2 separate regions of the Homo sapiens genome follow, and region 1 is linked to region 2. Evidence: promoter capture Hi-C in 16 types of primary human blood cells and fetal thymus (Javierre and others, 2016). All regions are on one chromosome and are shown on one strand. The core of a region is centred on a gene start or on the middle of the fragment in contact, and the rest is flanking DNA. Distances in the headings are between cores, read along the strand shown. Region 1 overlaps LOC100134368 (a long non-coding RNA gene). Region 2 holds the start of PRR35 (proline rich 35).

Region 1 (3,375 bases), core at 694-3,193, 170 kb after region 2:
CCAAAGTGCTGGGATTACAGGCGAGAGCCACCGCGCCCGGCCCAAAAAAATTTTAAAAATTAGGTGGGTGTAGTGGTGCGCGCCTGAACTCCCGTTAGAAACCATGAAGCTGTTGTTGATCCTCCCATCTTGGCCTCCCACAGTGCTGGGATTACAGGCGTGGCCACAGCCCTCGGCCCTGGACCCCATTGTTTCTAATGGGAAGTTATGCCATTCAATTGTTCCCTGGACTATAATGTGTTATCTTTCTCTGTCTGCTTTCAATATTTTCTCTATAAGTTCGTTTTCCAGCAGTTTGACTATGATGTAATTGGCTATGGTTTTCTTTGCATTGATTCTTGTTAAGCTTCACTAAGCTGCTTGAATCTGTAAATGAATGCCTTTCACCGAATTTTAGAATTTGGGGTATTTCTTCACATATTTTTTTTCTGTCTCAGTTTGTCTTCCCTGTCCTCTTGGATTTCCACGTGTACACAGGCTAGACCTCTTTCTTTTTCTTTTCTTTTTTTTTTTTTTGAGACGGAGTCTCACTCTGTCGCCCAGGCTGGAGTGCAGTGGCGGGATCTCAGCTCACTGCAAGCTCCACCTCCCCGGTTCACGCCATTCTCCTGCCTCAGCCTCCCGAGTAGCTGGGACTACAGGTGCCCACCACTGCGCCTTGCTAATTTTTTTTGTATTTTAAGTAGCGACGGGGTTTCACCATGGTCTCGATCTCCTGACCTCAGGTGATCCGCCTGCCTCAGCCTCCCAAAGTGCTGGGATTACAGGCGTGAGCCACTGTGCCCGGCTAGACCTCTTTCACCTCTGCTGAGGTCACTGCAGGGAGATCCAGGAAGAGTGGGCCCCTCCTTGTAGGAGGAGCACAGCCTCAGTCCCAGTCCCATCGGCCCGCCCAGGTACACTTCTGAGGGACACCAAGGGGAGCCTTCTCAGCAGAGAGCAACTCTTGGGCCTCCTACCCCGGCAGCCATCTCTGTCCCTGTCACCTTTGTTCCCACCCCTTGGAAGGGACAAGGACATCTGCTGTGGTTCCGCGCTCCAGTGCTGCTGGACTCACCCCAGGCTCCCTGCAGGCTGAGCGCTGTGCGGTCACTGCCCATGCCCTTCATCTTCCAGCTCACTCGCACCCACACCCAGGACAGGCATTCATTTGCTCAGACAAAATGGGGATAAATAAGAACCACTGCTGGGCGTGCTGGTGCTGGCCTGTAATCACCTGGGAGACTGAGGCAGGGGGATCCTTTGATCCCAGGAGGCCATTGCTGCAGGGAGCCACCATGTTCCCACTACACTCCAGCCTGGGCGACACAGCAAGACCCTGTCTCAATAAAAAAAAAAAAAAAGGAAAAAGAAAAACCCGTCTACTGCCATCCGCTGAACGTAAAACAACAACAAAAAGCTGGACTGAATGTAAAACAACAAAAAACTGAACTGTCATTCCCAGCACTTTGGGAGGCCGAGGCGGGCGGATCACCTGAGGTCAGGAGATCAAGACCATCCTGGCCAACATGATGAAACCCCATCTCTACTAAAAAATACAAAAATTAGCGGGGCATGATGGTGTCCACCTGTAATCCCGGCTACTCAGGAGGCTGAGGCAGGAGAATCGCTTGAACCTGGGAGGCGGAGGTTGCAGTGAGCTGAGATCGCGCCATTGCACTCCAACCTGGGGGACAAGAGTGAGACTTCGTCTCAAAAGAAAAAAAAAAGTGTGGGGAAAAGAAGAGAGATGAGATTGTTACTGTGTCTATGTAGAAAACTCCATTTTGATCTGTACTAAGAAACATTGTTTCTGCTTTGAGATGCTGTTAACCTGTAATTTTAACAGAAACCTGTGCTCACAGAAACATGTGCTGTGTTGAATCAAGGTTTAATAGGTTCAGGGCTGTGCAGGATGTGCCTTGTGAACAATTTGTTTGCAGGCAGTGTGCTTGGTAAAAGTCATCGCCATTCTCCGTTCTCGATTAATCAGGGACACAGTGCACTGCGGAAAGCCGCAGGGACCTCTGCCCAAGAAAGCCTGGGAGTTGTCCAAGGTTTCCCCGCACTGAGACAGCCTGAGATATGGCCTCGTGGGGAGGGAAAGACCTTACCATCCCCCAGCTCCACACCCGTAAAAAGGTCTGTGCTAAGGAGGAGCAGTGAAGGAGAGAGGCCTCTTTGCAGCTGAGATAAGAGGAAGGCTTCTGTCTCCTGCTTGTCCCTGGGAATGGAATGTCTCGGTGTAAAGCCGACCATTCGTTCTATTCTGAGATAGGAGAAAACCGCCCTGTGGCTGGTGGCGAGATATGCTGGCAGCAATACTGCTCTGTTACTCTTCGCTACACTGAAATGTTTATGTAAAGTGAAACATAAATCTGGCCTATGTGCACATCCCGGCACAGTACCTTTCCTAGAACTCACTCATGATACAGATTCCTTTGCTCACATGTTTCCCTGCTGACCTTCTCTCCATCTGTTGGCCTGCTACACTCCCCTCGCTAAGATAGTAAAAATAATGATCAATAAATACTGAGGGAACTCAGAGACCAGCGCCCCTGCAGGTCCTCTCAGGCTGAGTGCGCCGGTCCCCTGGGCCCCCCTTTCCTTCTCTATACTTTGTCTCTGTGTCTTATTTCTTTTCTCAGTCTCTTGTCCCACCTGACGAGAAATACCCACAGGTGTGGAGGAGCAGATCCCCTTCAAAAAGGGTACATACTTCCTACTTTTTTGGATTGGGAAATGACCTTTCCTTTTTTTTTTTTTTTTTTTTTTTAGACGGAGTCTTGCTCTGTCACCCAGGCTGGAGTGCAGTGATGTGATCTTGGCTCACTGCAACCTCCACCTCTCGGGTTCAAGCGATTCTCCTGCCTCAGCCTCCCAAGTAGCTGGGACTACAGGTGCGTGCCAGTTTTTTGTATTTTTAGTAGAGACAGTTTTCACCATATTAGCCAGGCTGGTCTTGAACTCCTGACCTTGTGATCCACCCGCCTCTGCCTCCCAAAGTGTTGGGATTACAGGTGTGAGCCACCGTCCCCAGCCCTTGAATGATTTAATTAGTTAATTTATTTATTTTTGAGATGGGGTCTCGCTCAGTCACCCAGGCTGGAGTGCAGTGGTGCGATCTTGGCTCACTGCAGCCTTGACCTCCTGGGCTCAAGGGATCTTCCTGCCTCAGGCTGTGGAGTAGCTGGGACTACAGACACACATGCCACCATGCTTGGCTACAATTTTTTTTTTTATGGTGACAAGATATATATATATATATATTTAGAATTAGGCAGCTGGACTCAGTTTAGATGATCCCAATTTTGTTGGCAACATCCAACGCATCGTAATCAGGAGCCAGTCGAACACATGCCTTCTTCTCTCCATCAGGCGGAATCAGGGTGGTGA
Region 2 (3,720 bases), core at 1,102-3,601:
CGTCAGCCTCCTGGTCTCATTCCCTCCAGCAACCCTGGCCCCTGCCAATCTGCCTGTTCAAAGCCTAGGAAAAGGCACTGAGATGAGACACCAACGGAAGGGTCTGTGTGGGATGATGCTGCGTGTGTGTGTGTGTGCCTGTGTGTGTCTGTGTGTGTGCATGTGTGCGTGTGCATGCACGTGTGTGTGCGTGCATGTGCGTGTGTGTGCACACGTGTGTGCGCCTGTGTGTGCATGTGCCTCTGTGCATGCTTGTGTTCATGTGCACGTGTGTGCATTGTGTGTGCATGTGTGCATGCATGCATGTGTGAGTGCGTGTGTATGCGTGTGTGTCTAAAGGCGGCACAGAGCCTGCTCTAGCAGGGCGTCAGGTGGGCACTGGGGGTCTCTTAGGGGGTCAGTCTCATGTGGGGCCAGGCCAGGCTGTGGGGAGTGGACGTCCCAGCATGGCCCCACGGCTCAGCCACCTGCTCAGCCCAGCTCCATCTGGGTGGCTTCGGGCAGGTCAGCGGCCGAGCCTGCAGCGGCCACACTCAGCCAAGACCCGCTCCTCCCCACGCCCCACACGGCGCTGGTATGCGCGCCACACTCCATCTGGGCCGCCACCTGGGCTGTCCACCGCCCCAGCACGCGCCTGTGTGGGGTGCACAGCACGCCTGCGCACACGGGCTTTGGGTGTGTGTACACAGCCCACAGGCTCACACAGAGCCCTCACCCAGTGCCCGGAGAAGCCACCTCTGTGCCACCTAAGCTCAGAACGGAGTCTGCCACCAAGTGCGGGGCCCTGGCTGCACACACCTCACACTCCATCACGGTGAACACGGCTGCTTGTCCGTGATAACACACTCACCACCCATCCAGGTGTGGGGGGGCTTTCCAAACCACTCCAACACGGCACTCACATGCTCACACAGGCCCTACACACCGACTCCCCAGGACACACGCAGACCTGGCTGGGGGTCGCACCCGTGGTCATGCATGGCCAGTGGGTTGAGCAGGGTAGGGCTGGGGCACTGCTGTCTGCTGCCCCCAAAACACTGTGTTGGTGCCGTTGGGGGGACGACCAACAGGGCTGGAGAAGTCCACTCGTCCAAAGGCTTGGGGCCCTGCAGGGCAGTCACGGGCTGCAGGGGCAGGCAGAGGCTGACCAGCTGGTCTGTGGCTGAGACAGGGTGGCGGTCGGGAGGCAGGGGCTGGGCCAGGAGAGGTCCTGGGGCTCCCCGAGGGGCTGCAGACCCGGCCTGGACTGGGTGGTGGGTGCAGAGGCGGCCCCTTCTCCCTGCCCGCCGCCCCCCCCACCCATGTGGATGACAAATGGGTGTGGGCGCTCCGGCGACAGAGGCGGCTGTGCCGGGCCATCGATCACCCAGCCCTGGGAGCCACACAGCTGTGCCAGCCGATGCCACAACCCATCCCGCCTCCCAGCAGGGACCGGGGGCTCCCGGGTCAGGGGCTTGTCCAAGGGGCTGTCTCAGCAGCTGCTGACCCCTTGGGGACCCGGAGGATAGCTGGCACCCACCTGGTGTGTGTACACAGAGCAAAAGACACCCCTGGACAGCAGCCACACGCACACACAAACGCATACGCACTCACACGCGCGTCCCAGCCGGACCCGGCAATCGCTCCCGGGGCAGCCAGCAGCCCTGTGCCAGGCCCCGACACCCGGCCCCACTCACCTGTCCCTGTTTGGGGGAGAGCTGGGGGAGAACCGGTGGCACGGGGGGCACAGGCACCCCCACAGGGCAGGAGGGGGCACCCAGCAGCCGGGGACCCTGATCGGCCACCCGCAGATCCTGCTGCCCCCCCCCCCGGGAACGCAGGGCGCCCCACACAGGCGGGTGCGGCGAGCGCGAGGTCAGGCGTCTGCCCCAGACCCCAGACCCGGCCCCTGCCCTCCCCGCCTGGCCCCTGAGGGCGGCCCTCCCTCCCCCCGCGCTGCTCCTGGACTTCGAGAAGAGGGTGGGGGGGACCCGGCCGCCCCCCGCGCCCCCCACACGCCTGGCCACCCGCTGCCCCCGCGCCCCGCGTCCAGCCGGCCCCGCGACGCCCAACTGGCCGCCCCCGCGGCTCCCGCCGCTCCTACCTGCGCCCGGCCGGGAGCGGAGCCGCCAAGTCTGCGAGGCCGCGTGTAGGGCGCAAACTTCCCGCCCCTCCCCGCCCCGCGCCGGCCGCGACTCGGACCCCGCGGACGCGCTGGGGCTCTGGGGGTGGGATGCGGCTCCCGTGGGGGAAACTGAGGCCCGGCGCCGGGAGCCGGACCTCCCGGGTCCGCGGTCCCTCGAGCGGCAGCGACTCCCGCAGCCTCCGCCGCCGCCCGCGTCCCCCCGACGCCGCTCGCACCTCCCGAAGTTGGCGGCAGAGGCGGGCGCGCGTGCGCCTGGGCTCCGGGCTCCGGGGGGCGCTGCGACCTCCGACCGCGCTCGCGGCGGGAGGGAAGGAGCAGCCCCCGGCCCGAACCCCGCGCCCCCGCCGCCCGCGCGCCCCCCGCCGCCCCCTGGCGCGCACTCACCGGCCTCGTGCGCCGGGACCGGCTCAGCTCTCGGGGCGCGCGGTGGAGCGGCCGGGAACCCGGGAGGCAGCGGACGGAGAGCGGACTGCGGCGCAGGTGTGCGGCCGAGTCAGGGGCGCCCGGCGCCTCCCGCCCCCGTTGCCCGCAGGCTGCCGCGGGGGTGCACAGAGGCCGCCAGGTCTCCCGGGTCCCCGCCGCGGCGTGATGGGTGTCAGCGGCGCGGGGCGCGGGAGAGGGGCCGTCAGCGCTTATCCATCAGGGCTCTGGCCCCTGACAGCCGCCGGCCCACCCGAGCCAGGGCCCCTGGGGGCTGTCCTGGGGGACAGGGGTGCCGCGGACTGAGCCAGCGGAGCCGGGCTCCCTTCCTTGCCCTCCCTGGGCGAGCCCTGCCCTCCGTTCTCTTTTCCTCTAAACCGGAGGCTGCCCGGACCGGCCCCTCGCACCCCGCCCTGCCGGCTGACCGCCTCCACCTGGGGCTGGTCTCCAGCACCCTCCCCCTTCCTGGATGCGGACCCCTCCAGCCCTCACTCCCGGCTCCTGTGGGAGGTGCCTCAGCGCTGCCCCACGAGGCCACGCACTTCCCTGCTGTTTGAAAGACCCCCTCCCCACGGGAGTCCCCTCCTGAGAGGACCTGGGGCGGTGGAGGAGAGAAGCAGGGCCAGGGCTGCTCCCAGCCCCACCTCCCGGGCTGCACCAAGTTCCAAGCAGCTCCCTGAGCTGCCAGAACGTAAAGGCCTGGAGCCCCACTGCTCAGCTGGGGCCTAGGGGAGGTTCGCCTGACCGGCCTGCTCCCTCCCGGACACAGGCATGGCTGGGGCAGAGCCCCTGACTTCGCTCAGGGGAGACGTCCTAAACCCGACACTTGCGGTAGGCGGGCGTCTCGGGGTCTCCAGCCAGAGGGGAGTGTGCTACTCCCTGCTGACTCTGAAACAGCACAGGGAGCCCGGCCCACATAGCTCCCCAGGACCTGGGGCTCTCTGCAGGCTCAGCCGCAGGCTCCCGGGCTGTCCCCAGCTCAGGTCGGGGTCAGGGGTGCCTTGGGGAAGAAGGGAGGACCCCACGGGGCTTCTGGGTGTCACCCCTCGAATGGGGCAGAGAAGAGAGCTCAGCAGCATCTCCGTGGCCCCGGTCCGGCTGCTGGCAGAGCCCCCTGGTAGAGCACACCCAGGGTCCATGAGGAACAGCCCCTGGTTCTGGGGTGGGCGTGGGGC

The links. Contacts are between HindIII fragments. The CHiCAGO score rates a contact against its expected background, and 5 or more counts as called.
Region 1: a contact is called between a fragment that was not itself captured here and the fragment with the promoter of PRR35 in region 2, in 1 of 17 cell types (endothelial precursors). The highest score is 5.4, in endothelial precursors.

What each region holds. Positions count from the first base shown.
Region 1 is chr16:387,133-390,507 of GRCh38, reverse strand. All of the region lies in intron 2 of LOC100134368 (a long non-coding RNA gene), which reads right to left. It also overlaps the pseudogene RPL23AP5. Among named protein-coding and RNA genes, the nearest start is that of PGAP6, 6.8 kb to the right of the region's middle. RefSeq lists a silencer at 1-24. The HindIII fragment of the contact is 3,189 bases long and covers 349-3,375 here.
Region 2 is chr16:559,025-562,744 of GRCh38, reverse strand. It overlaps PRR35 (proline rich 35), which reads right to left and starts at 2,351. Exons shown (of 3, transcript NM_145270.3): 1 at 2,084-2,351. RefSeq lists enhancers at 1,135-1,680, 1,681-2,227. The HindIII fragment of the contact is 12,132 bases long and covers 1-3,720 here.